Linked DNA regions of Homo sapiens: region 2 is linked to region 1. The links are contacts of gene promoters, found by promoter capture Hi-C in blood cells and fetal thymus (Javierre and others, 2016). All regions are on one chromosome and are shown on one strand. The core of a region is centred on a gene start or on the middle of the fragment in contact, and the rest is flanking DNA. Distances in the headings are between cores, read along the strand shown. Region 1 holds the start of TNS3 (tensin 3). Region 2 holds the start of MYO1G (myosin IG).

Evidence for each region. The method cuts DNA at HindIII sites, captures the fragments that hold promoters and counts their contacts. A CHiCAGO score of 5 or more calls a contact.
Region 2: a contact is called between the fragment with the promoter of MYO1G here and the fragment with the promoter of TNS3 in region 1, in 1 of 17 cell types (M0 macrophages). The highest score is 7.3, in M0 macrophages.

What each region holds. Positions count from the first base shown.
Region 1 is chr7:47,580,201-47,586,059 of GRCh38, reverse strand. TNS3 (tensin 3) reads left to right here and starts at 3,949. Exons shown (of 31, transcript NM_022748.12): 1 at 3,949-4,009. RefSeq lists enhancers at 3,538-4,075, 4,076-4,613. The HindIII fragment of the contact is 9,706 bases long and covers 1,319-5,859 here.
Region 2 is chr7:44,976,406-44,981,956 of GRCh38, reverse strand. MYO1G (myosin IG) reads left to right here and starts at 2,942. Exons shown (of 22, transcript NM_033054.3): 1 at 2,942-3,090; 2 at 4,886-5,094; 3 at 5,300-5,393. The coding sequence starts at 2,996. RefSeq lists enhancers at 1,203-1,332, 2,560-2,609, 2,640-2,709 and a silencer at 2,910-2,999. The HindIII fragment of the contact is 4,854 bases long and covers 2,369-5,551 here.

The DNA.
Region 1 (5,859 bases), core at 2,700-5,199:
TGCCACCACGCCTGGCTAATTTTTTTTTTGTTTTGTATTTTTTAGTAGAGACAGGGTTTTACCGTGTTAGCCAGGATGGTCTCGATCTCCTGACCTCGTGATCTGCCCGCCTCGGCCTCCCAAATTGCTGGGATTACAGGCGTGAGCCACTGCACCTGGCCTAGAAGAAATTTATTATAGGAATTGGCTCACACAATTATGGCTCACACAACTATGTCTGCAAACTGAAGACCCAGGAAAGTTGGTGGTGTAATTGCCAGTCTGAGTCCAAAGGCCTGAAAACCAGGAGCACTGATATTTGAGGGCAAGAGAAAATGAATGTTCCAGCTCAAGAAGGAAGAGGAAGAACTCACCCTTTTTCTGCCTTTTTGTTCTACTTGGGCCCTTGAAGGACTGGATGGTGCCCACCCACACTGGTGAGGATGGATTTGCTTTACTCAGTCTACCCATTCAAACGCTAAGCTCTTCCAGAAACACGCTACCCACACACCCAGAAATCACATTTTACCAGCTATCTGGGCAACCCTTAGCCCAATCAAGTTGACATCTGACATGAGCCATCACAAACACCAAGGTTATGTAAATTCCGAAAAGGTTCTGAGACACGGAAAAGCTCAGGTGCCTCTAGCCAGGCCTGGCAACTGTAAAGCCCACTTTGTTGAGCTGTAGGTGAGGATTCGTGTGTTTGGGAAGAGAAAAAGGAAGAGAGGAAAGGGCCAGGTGTTCTAGTAAGAGTCTCAAGGGACTTAGTATCTTTTTTTTTTTTTTTTTGAGACAGAGTCTTGCTCTGTCACCCAGACTGCAGTGCAGTGGTGCGATCTCAGCTCACTGCAACCTCCGCCTCCTGGGTTCAAGCGATTCTCCTGTCTCAGCCTCCTGAGTAGCTGAAACTACAGGTGCGTGCCACCACTCCCAGCTAATTTTTGTATTTTTAGTAGAGACGGGGTTTCACCATATTGGCCAGGATGGTCTCGATCTCTTGACCTTGTGATCTGCCCTCCTCGGCCTCCCAAAGTGCTGGGATTATAGGTGTGAGCCACTGCGCCCGGCCGAGACTCAGTATCTTAAGGCAAAACACAGGCATTTGCTCATGTTCCAACTCCACAGTTCTCTGAATGCGCTGTAGAGCTTTGTAACTCCATCCTGTGTAATGTTTCCTGCTGTCTCTTTCAGTTGGTCTTTGGGAAATATTTTCAGTGACAGAAAGTAAGAAATAAGGAAAAATATCCAAGTCCTTGCTCATATACCTCCCTTGATCTAGGGATACAAATTCAGATTTTTGCGGTGGCAAAGACAATCTTCATTGCAATGACAAGCTTCCAACACATCTTCTAAAACTCCTACAGGGGAGGAGCAAGAATGAGTCTGCAAAGAAGGGCTCAGGGAGGAAGGAGATTGGCGGGAGTTTCTTGCCCAGACTCCCCTGCCCTCTGCTTGGCATACTAGGAGGGAGAGGCCACTCTTGGCATATTGCTGCTTTTTTTTTTTTTCAGCTAAATGTTGGAGACTTTTGTTTTCAAAGTTGAGTTTTTTTTGGATGGCTAAGGATGGAAAAAATGCACATTCCCTTTTTCAGATACTGGTTCATGCCCTGTTTTTGTTTAATTTCTTGGAAACTTGAAGTTGCAGCCTGCGAAGTGGGGAGGCCCTGGGCTGGGGAAGCGAAGCTCTGGAAGGGGCCCAGGTCCCGATTGGGGATCCAGAGAGGCTTCCCTTCATGTGCCTCTAGACGAGGTGTGGGGAACCCGGGGAACAGCCATCCCAGCCAACACAGAGTGCGTGGGGATACTGGAGCCCGGTTTTTCTTCTCCTTTCTTGGGACACTGCCAGGGAATATAACCACAGACACTGCACGAATGAGCACCCAAGTCACAGTTTTTCTAGAAACAAAGGTGTGGTTGGGGCATCCCATTCCATTGCTACCCCAACAAGGGCAGTGTGGCCGGTGGGGCCATCTGGCTTGGGTGTGGGTAGCAGTTTGGAGAGATTTTAGAAGAGGCTCCCTGACAAAGGGTCAGAGAACCCCAGCACTGCACTGAGTTTTCCTGACTGTGAGCTCTCAGACAAACAACAGTGTCACCTCCTGTAAATGGGTGCCCTAACACTGCAAGAAGCTCAAATTCATGTTGTCATTCAGCCAACATGGTTTTTGGCATTATGATGGTTTCTGTGATGCACAGAATAGCACGTAATTGGCTCTGGGTGTGAAGATCACCACGGTCTTAATGGAAGAGAGGGTTGAGCAAAGTGATGATTTAGTCCAATTGCACAGAGTGGATGGTGTGGGCAGGCAGCTGGGAAGAAGTTAAGAGTAGCCTCAAGGCCAGATAGTCCTGATCCCTCCCACTTTCTTCGCCTGACCAGGTGGGTGACCTTGAACAAGTTGCCTAGAATGTCAGATCCTGTTTCCTTATCAGGACAAAGGAGATCGTAACAGTACCAGCCTCACCCCCATTCCTAACCCAGCTGGCTGTGACCTCCTCCCCACCTTCCCCTATGGCATCTTCCCTGGCACCCCTTGACTCATCTCATTGACTCTTGACCTGGTGTCTCCTAGAGTGTAGGAAAAATGCCTGCCTCATCTCTAGGGGCTGGGGCATGGTGCTCATGAAGCCTTTGCCTGGGAATAAATACCCAGATCAGTCTGGGGATGAGAAATGACACTACCTTCCAGAGCACAGCAGGGGTTGTTCAAGTCTTCCAGAAAAGCAGCTCTTGTTTCTCCTCATGTGGTGGGAGTGGAGTCAGAGCGTGGCTCAGGCCCCACATTCTCAGCTGTTTGGATCTGGGGACTCGAAGTTTCTGGTGGTTACTTCTGAAAGTCTTTTCCAGGATAATTATTCTTGCTCGGTTTCTCTGCCATCTCTGACAGGCTGTTTTCCCTGCTTCCCCCGCTGCCCTGAAGGGGCCAGAGGAACAGGGCAGGACCCCAGGGCTGCGGATGGGTTAGGCAGCTCTGTTCCCGAATCCAAAGCAGTTCTTGGTGACTGTCCTCCAAGACTTGCCCTGGACCCTGCTCCGGGTGGGATTCTGAGACCGCCTGCTCCACGTGGCAGATGAAATCTAGGTCTCTTCTGTGAGAGGCTGGCGGGGAGGATGTTTTCCTGGAAAGGACCACAGGACAAACCGCTGATGAAATTTCTCTTGTGACCTCCCTGGAGGAAGAGCACTTCTGATTTCTGCAAACTTTTTCCATTCCCCCGATCTCACAAATGGGGAAACTGAGGCTAAGCGACTGAGTTCAGGGCCATCTGAATCTCAGGGATGGACAGTCAGGATGGACAACCTATAGGCCTTTCCTCCTCTGAGAATCTCTCTGCTCGGGATCGTTTTTCTGGTTTCCCCTGGCTTGCCTAAATTCTGCTCATTTGTCCCGGCGCATTTTAAGAAGTCATGTGACTTCTAAAGACTTCCCTGACCTCCTCCCTTCATTAGCTGGGTATTTCAGGGGCTTCTACGGCACCCTAGGCTTTCCGGAGCGGCTGTGCTCCTTTATGTATGCGCGACTCCCACTAGGCTATGAGCTACAGGAGGGAGGGTAGGTCTTGCTCCCGGAGAGCACCTTAATCACAGGCGCTGAATGAAAGAATGAACTGGTTGTGCAGGAACCAGGATCCGAACCCGCCTCCCCAGGTACTCTAACACCGGCCCGGCGGAACCTGCAAGCCTCCAGACCACTTGGAGCCTGGGCTGCTCAATGGGTCTGATAATTCCAGGTCCTCTCTGCGGCCAGCGAAGGGAGGTCCCAGGGCGCACCTCGGCAGGGCGGGGGACCCCGGTGAAGGGCGCCTGGAGGCGCGCTGCATTGTTAGGGTGATGAGGCCAGGTGACCCGCCAGGCTCGGGGCGCGGGCGCGGGGGCCGGCCGTGGCGATTGCCCGCGCCGCCTCGAGGGGGCCCTGCCGCGGGCGCCGGCAGCCAGCCAGGAGGACGGGCCCGCCCGCGCGCTACTCGGAGCCCAGCCTCGTTGCGGCCATCGCCCTGCCGGACCGCGCCTCAGGCTCCCCCAGGTACTGGGGCCGGGGAAGGAGGAAACGCGGCCACGCGCCGCGGTCCTCTTTGTTTCGGGCCCGGCGCGGGCTTTCGCGCTCCGGGCGCAGGAACGAGGCTTGGGGAGCACAGAGATCTGGAGCTGGGGCGCGGGGACTGAGTTCGGGGAGCGCGGAGACAGAGTTCGGGGAGCGCGGGGTACGGGAGCTCAGGGCGCGGGGATGGGGTCACGGGAGAACCCAGGTTAGGGAGCGCGGGGACCCGGTTGGGGGCGCACGGGCAAGGGGTTTGGTGCGCGCGGGTACGGGGTTTGCGGCGCGTGGGGGGCGGGGGCTCGGCAGGAGTCCCAGGACAGGGGCTGGGGCGCGGGCCAGCTTCGCCGGAGTCCGGGGACGGGGGCGCTGACTGGCTGGGTTTGGGGACTGGCTGGGGCGCAGGACCACTCGAGTGGGACCCGTGGCGCCCGGGCGCCCTGGACTGAGGGCAGAGACCGGAGCAGCTATGTCGCAGTCGCTGTCGGGACCGAGCGGACTTTGCTCCCTAGGACTCCGTCTCGAGACTCCAGGTGGAGAGCGCAGCTAGGGGCTTCAATGGGCAGGCTCAAGACCCTTCTCCTACTTTTTCTAGGCAAGCTCTCCAGTGCGTCTCTTTCCCTTTCCCTTTGGTGGGTGGGAGGCAGGGGGTCTTTACGCGCTTCCTTTTTTTCCCTGAAGGACGGGACCTCGGGGTGGGGGGATATTCTGGGGTGGGGGGTGCTGTCCCAGGCTGGGGGCCAGCTGTGTGGCATGTGCCTCCTGGCACGCGGGAGCTGTCGCTGACAAGCAGGAGGAGGGAGGGTCCCGGACGGCCCAGGGGTCTCTGTGTCGGTGCTGTGCAGCGGCCTGACATGTGAGTCCCGGGTCCTTTGCTTGGAGTGATTTGAGTGTCTGTGGCGGGAAGAGATTCAGGCGTTCCTCAGGCATTCTCCAGACAGTGTCAGCAGATGACCCGAACTCCAGCGTGGTTGAAAAACTCAAAGCGCCATCAGGGTGTGGGGCCAGCAGAGAGCACTACTGAGGGTGGTCACAACCCCCTGGGAAGCCCCCAGGCTTCCTTGGGGCGCATTCACACACTTTGATCTTCCGGGTTGGCTTTCCCCCCATTTTTTTCACTATTTGAATGCATGATCATGGAGGACTCTGAAAATATACTGAAAAGTATGAATGCAGAACTCATTGTATTAATATTGCATGGCCCTTCTGAACTAACCAACCCTTTGACATTTTAGATTTTCTTGAGGCTTTGGTCTGTGCATATTAATTTTTTAAATTGCTTTCATGCTTTCCCTTTTGAATGAGGTTTACTTGTTCTGGTGATTCTGGTTCTTCTCTCTTTGGGGCCTGTGAGGTTATATTTGCAAATCAATCAACAAGTATTAAGAAAGGCTTTTCTGTGCTGAGGCCTTGAGGGCCAGGGAGGGGGTGGGGAGTCGCTGCAGCTGGAGGGTGGAGGGGCAAGGCCATTACACAGAGATGGAGGTGCACTGGGTCCTGGTGGGGGTGTGGTAGCACAGGGGGTGGGGGGTGTGTACACAGGGAATTGACAGGAGGAACTGGCAGCAAGCCCGACTCCTGACCTTAGGAATAGTAATGGTGACCCCGAAGACAAAGTAACAGGCATACCGATTGAGTGTTTGCCTGTGCTAAATGCTTTGCATGCATTCATTTCATTTCACCCAAATTACATTCCTTGGAGGGAGTTGGGATTATGATTACCCCATTTTACAGACGAGTAAACTGAGGCAAAGGAAGGCTAAGTAACTTGGCCGAGATGAAATGAAACATGGTGGTAGTGCAGCCTGGGATTCTGGGACAGGACTCTAGGGTCCCAG
Region 2 (5,551 bases), core at 1,693-4,192, 2.6 Mb after region 1:
ACACCCAGCCTCCAGTGACTTACATCCAATTTACTACTGACAGTGAATGGAAAAGCACCCAAAGGGGCCTGCAACAGGAGGCACAGCATCTCCCCTTGTTGAGGAGCCAATTCTAGACTGCAGCTGAGCAGATTGTCTAGTCTGCAGCTATACCATGGGGGGAGTGGGGTACGAACCGGAAGTCTCACATCCCTGCTTAGAAAAAAAATCCCAGGAGACAGTAACTCCTGATAGCCTCCCAGAAGGATGGAGCGGGGAATGGAGCTGGCCTTGTGGCAGCGCCTCCTAGGCCTCCACTCTCAGTTCCAGGAGGCTCAGTTGAGCTGTGTGGCCTGTGGCCTATGAGAGTATACCCCTAGGTAGAGCCATTCCCCTACAATTAGCCCAATGGTATCACCTCAGATGAGGTAAAAAAAAAAAATTTTTAATAGAAATACTAAGTTATGGTACAGTTGTGTAGAGCCGAAAAAGCAACTCCCCTGAAAGGGGACATTTTTCTGGGGCTGGGGATTTGCTGCAAGGTCAGCACCAACAGAGCAAGCCTGGGATTTGAAGGTTGCAACGAGGAGGGTGAGGGCAAGGGACCTGCAGGTGCAGCCGTAGGAGCCCTGGTGGAGGCAGGCATTGTGAAACTGATCCAGATGAGATAATGAGAGGGAAACTCACTGGGGCCAGGATGGTTTCCTCAGCCCCTGCCAGGCTTGAGTTGGTGGTGGCCCCTCCTTGCTGTCCTTCCATTAGGAGCCTCTGCCTTTGTTCATCTACCTGTTCTACCAGTCATACCCTGTAAGGAGCATGCCCTGGGGAAGCTGCAGATAGAGCTACCATTTGTCCTCCCTTCTGAGGACCAGGCCGTGACTCTGACTGACCGACTTTTCCCTGGGATTTGAGTAGGACCCACTGAATTCAGTGCTATAAGGGCCCAGAGGTCTGTTGACCCAGGAGGGAACTTCCTTTGTAGTGATGTCATCTCAGCCTCGGTTTTAATATATGTAAAATGAAAATAACAGTAACTCCTACATGTGTCATGAGAATCAAATGAGGCAATGCATGGCAAATTTGTGCAAACTACCAAGGAAGGACGCCCAGGGTCCCAGCAACCAGCAGCAGCTAAAGCAAGGGCGGGCAAACTCCTCCCACCAGCCAAATCTCTGAGCTAAGAGTGGTCTTGACATTTTTAAGTGGTTAGTGGTGGGGGAAATACCCAAAATAGTATGATTACGTGACAGATGAAAAGTTTGCGAAGTTCAGATTTCGGTGTCCTTAACGTTTTACTGGAATACAGCCATCTTGGTTCCACTGGTTGGCTTGACTCCCTGGGGGTTGGGGAAGTGAAACTTGAAAAGACAGATGAGCTGGCAAGAGTCTGGGTGAGAATTCCCAGACTTGAGTGTAGGTTTGGGAAACCCTTCAAAAGCACCAGCCCAAGAGCCTGGGGGTGGGGAGGAGGCCACACTTGTCAGAGTTCCGAAGGACTGACTTTGAATTTGCCCAAGAGGAGCCCCAGGTCTGGCCCAGGGTGGAGCCAGAGGCTGCCCACTTACAAATTTGGGGATTTTTCAGGCCAGTGGCCCCTTATTGCAGTGGTGCGTGACTCAGTTTTATTAGGTACTTGAATAAGTACTTTCAGTTTTATCAGGAATGCATTTGCTTTAAGGTATTCGAGAGAAAAAAATAAACTTAACTTGCCTATCCATTACTTCAAAGTTTAAAAAATGGGATGACTGAAAGACAATAGTTAAACTAGTGCTTATGAGTACAACAAATCTCAAAGGCAGCACATGAATGACTGAAGTTTGGGAATTCTGGAGTCTGCCCTTTGACCTCCCTGTATGAGGGAAGGGGTGAAAGAGAAATGTCACCAGTCTATTTGTAGGATGAGAGAGAACTGCATCCATTTGACCTTTGATGAGAGAATCGCCCCAGTGTTCCTAGAGGATGGGTGTGACCTGCCCCAGTCTGTCCTGGGATGAAAAAGAACTTTTTCCAGTCTGCCTGGAAGCTAAGAGAACTGCACCCCTCCCACTTCTTCCAGGAGCACTAAGTGTCAGGAATGCAGTGTCTGGAGATTTTGGCCACTCCCTAAATGCAGCCGCTCCCCAAATGCGCTGCCTCATCTTCAAAGTGCAGGGACAGCAGCTCTGAGATGAGGCCACAGGGCTCCAGGCATGTTCCTGGTCCTCACTGCAGTTTATGGGGGATCGGCTGGACACAAGTACAAGGCAGAGGACAGTTAGGGGCACAGGGGTCCCACTGAAGGCCAGCCCCATGCAGAGGATGCTCTGGGGTCCTCTGTCCCTCCCCCGTGGCTGGGGTGGGGAATTGCAGTGCTAGGACCACTGGCCCTTGGCAGGTCACACAAGAAGCTTTGCTCGTCTACACCCCAGTGTGGCCTTCACACTGCAAAGAAGGCTGTTGCCCCCACCCCAAAGGCCTGGGCATTAGGATCCTTTTTCATTTTTGTATTAATGTACAATGTACATACAGTATATTGCATCTAGTGTTCAGTTCTGACTTGAGAGACACACACAGCCAGGTAACCAAGATCACGTCAAAAAATCTTTCTTTAAAGTCCCACAAGTGACTCTAACGTGCTGCCAGGGTTGGAAGCCAACCCACGGAGTCTTGTCTCCTGCTTGTGGGTGGAGGGGAGCTTCCGAAGGAGGCCAGCGAAGAACCCTCCAAAGCGGGGAGGACCCAGCATCCGGCCCCTCGCCCCTGGCGTGCAAACGGGTCAGACCGTTAGGCACAGCCTCCTTGTGGGGCGCAGGGACAGGAAGCAGGGTTTAGAGCACCTCGAGGGGGAAGGAGTGGCAAGTGCGGAGGGCAGCCCCTCCCAGGACTAGAACCCACTTCCTACTTTACACCAGCACTGGAGGAGGCTGGTGGGGCAGGGCGGGGGCGGTGGGGCCTCCCCTAGCCTTCCCTCCCCCTCTCCTTCACTGTCCTTCCAGCAGGCACAGGAAGGTGAGGCAAGGTGTTTCCAGCCGGCAGGATGGAGGACGAGGAAGGCCCTGAGTATGGCAAACCTGACTTTGTGCTTTTGGACCAAGTGACCATGGAGGACTTCATGAGGAACCTGCAGCTCAGGTAGGCCCAGGGCAGGAGGCAGTGGCTCCCCTCCTCCAGGGTCTCCCACCTTGCGTCCTCGCAGAGACCTGAGGGAAAGAGGAAGGCACGCTGCTGTCCAAGGGAGGGGGCAGTGGCACACACCCACCCAGACCAGATGGGGCTGAAATGAGTGCCTCAAAGCACGGCCCCAGGGGACAGGAACAGACAAGGAGGCAACTGTCCCTGTCAGGGCTGGCAAGTCAGCACCGGAGCTGCCCACCACCTCAACCCACCCCTGCCTCCCACACAGTCCAGGCATCTTCTGCCCCTTCTTTCCTGCCCGACGGGGCCAGGGCATGACACTTCTTGGACAGATACATACCAGGCACTATCTTTCCAGGAGGGACCAGGGGCACCTCCCTCCAGCCACTTCCCAGCCAGTTGTTGATGCTCCCTCGATGCATCTCATCCATGGGGCCTGGCCTGAGCCCTGGGGACACTGAGATGAAGCAGTCAGGCTCCACCCTAGGGTCCAAACATTCCCACCAAGTTGAGGTGACATTCTCCTGGGGTACATGGAGTATCACAGGACACAGTTGGTAGAAGTGATATTGGAGCCCAATTTACCATCAAGGAGGGCAGGTGGAGGGCAGGGAGAAGCCCGGGAGGTAGGGGCATGGCACAGTAGGGTGGCCATACAGGCAGCTGGGCTTCCTGCCAGGACTCCCAGGGAGGGGCAGAAGGCCACTCGCTGTGTACTCCGGAAGCTCCCTGGGGAGAGCTTGGGGACCAGGATCCCCACTAAGCACCGAAGGCAAGAGACCACGAGCCTGGCTCAAAGAGGAGGGCTAGCCAGGACGTGAGCTAAGCACTTTGTGCACATTGTTCTACCTCATTCTTATAAAATGAGCTTATGAAACATTGTCCTCTCTATTTTGATGAGGAGAACACTGAGCCCTGGAGACGTGGGTGACTTGTGCCCTCATCCCCAGCTTGTAGGAGGATGGGAGCTAGGCCCAGGAAAACCCATGTCAGAGGTGGTGGAGAAAGAGGAACCTCAGGACAGGCCCACCCAGGACAGGCTGCCGGGAGACAGGGCCATCCAGGGAAGGGTGGGTACCACACACCAAGGGGAGATGGGTCTGAGGGGCAGGCCTGCCAGTCCTCCTCCCAGGGGCAGAAAGGTCAAGAGAAGGGCAGACATCCACCCCCACTGGGGACCAGGTTTGTGAAGGAAAGGGTCAAGAAGTCTGAGGCTGTGCCAGGGGAGAGGCAGCAGCCACTGGCCACAGGCTGGGGGGTCGGGGGTGTAAAGACAACGACATCAACTCCCTCCCTGTCATCTGGGTGGGGCTGGGTGGGGTCCCCTTTTGTCTCTGGGTTCCCGCCCAGGCCTTGAGACAGGAAACAGCCGAGGAGGCCCCTCCTTCCCCTCCCAGCCCAGTCACTTCTCAACCCCATCTCCCCATCTGCCCTGCGGGGTTCACCCCAGGAGCCAGCCCTGACTCACGGCACCCAGTGCAGTCTTGGGCAAGTCTGTTTCCTTTGCAAAATGAGTGGTCATGTTTCCAGTGACCTTGGGATCCCTGGGGAGACCACTGTGGACCCCAAACTCTATGCCGCAATGGAGACAGTCTCTGAGTGGCTCAGCTCACCCAGGATGGCACCAGGGAGACGCAAGGTCAACACCTGCCCCCTTCTTCCTTCTCCACTCTCAGCCCGTCAGGGTGGGAGCGCTGGCCTACTGGGGCCAGGCCCTGATATGGGCTCTGGCGAAAGGCCTGTGGGTGCCTGTAAGCCTGTGAGTGCTGAGGCCTACCCCTGCTGTGTCCAGGTTCGAGAAGGGCCGCATCTACACCTACATCGGTGAGGTGCTGGTGTCCGTGAACCCCTACCAGGAGCTGCCCCTGTATGGGCCTGAGGCCATCGCCAGGTACCAGGGCCGTGAGCTCTATGAGCGGCCACCCCATCTCTATGCTGTGGCCAACGCCGCCTACAAGGCAATGAAGCACCGGTCCAGGGACACCTGCATCGTCATCTCAGGTACCTGTCCCTGCCGCCGGGCCCCCACCCTCGGCATCTTCATTTGTGAACATTTGGGAGGGCCATTAGAGCATCTCCTGTGCCCTGTGTCCTGATGGGGGCCCTAGGACCCCATCTTGCCAGTCTTGGGGGTGTGAGTGGGCACAGGGAGCTGGGCTAAGAGAGCGAACCTGGCTGATTCTCTCAACTCTGGTCTTTCCGGCAGGGGAGAGTGGGGCAGGGAAGACAGAAGCCAGTAAGCACATCATGCAGTACATCGCTGCTGTCACCAATCCAAGCCAGAGGGCTGAGGTGGAGAGGTGAGTGGCAATGGGCAGCTCTGGGCCTCAGCATGGCAGGCCAGGGACCTCAGTGTGGCAGGAAGGGCTGGCTCTGGGGAGTGAGAGACGGCAACTGGAGTCTAGCTCAGGTCAAGTTCAGTGGGAACTTGGGAAGTTTCCAGATAATGCCAACACAC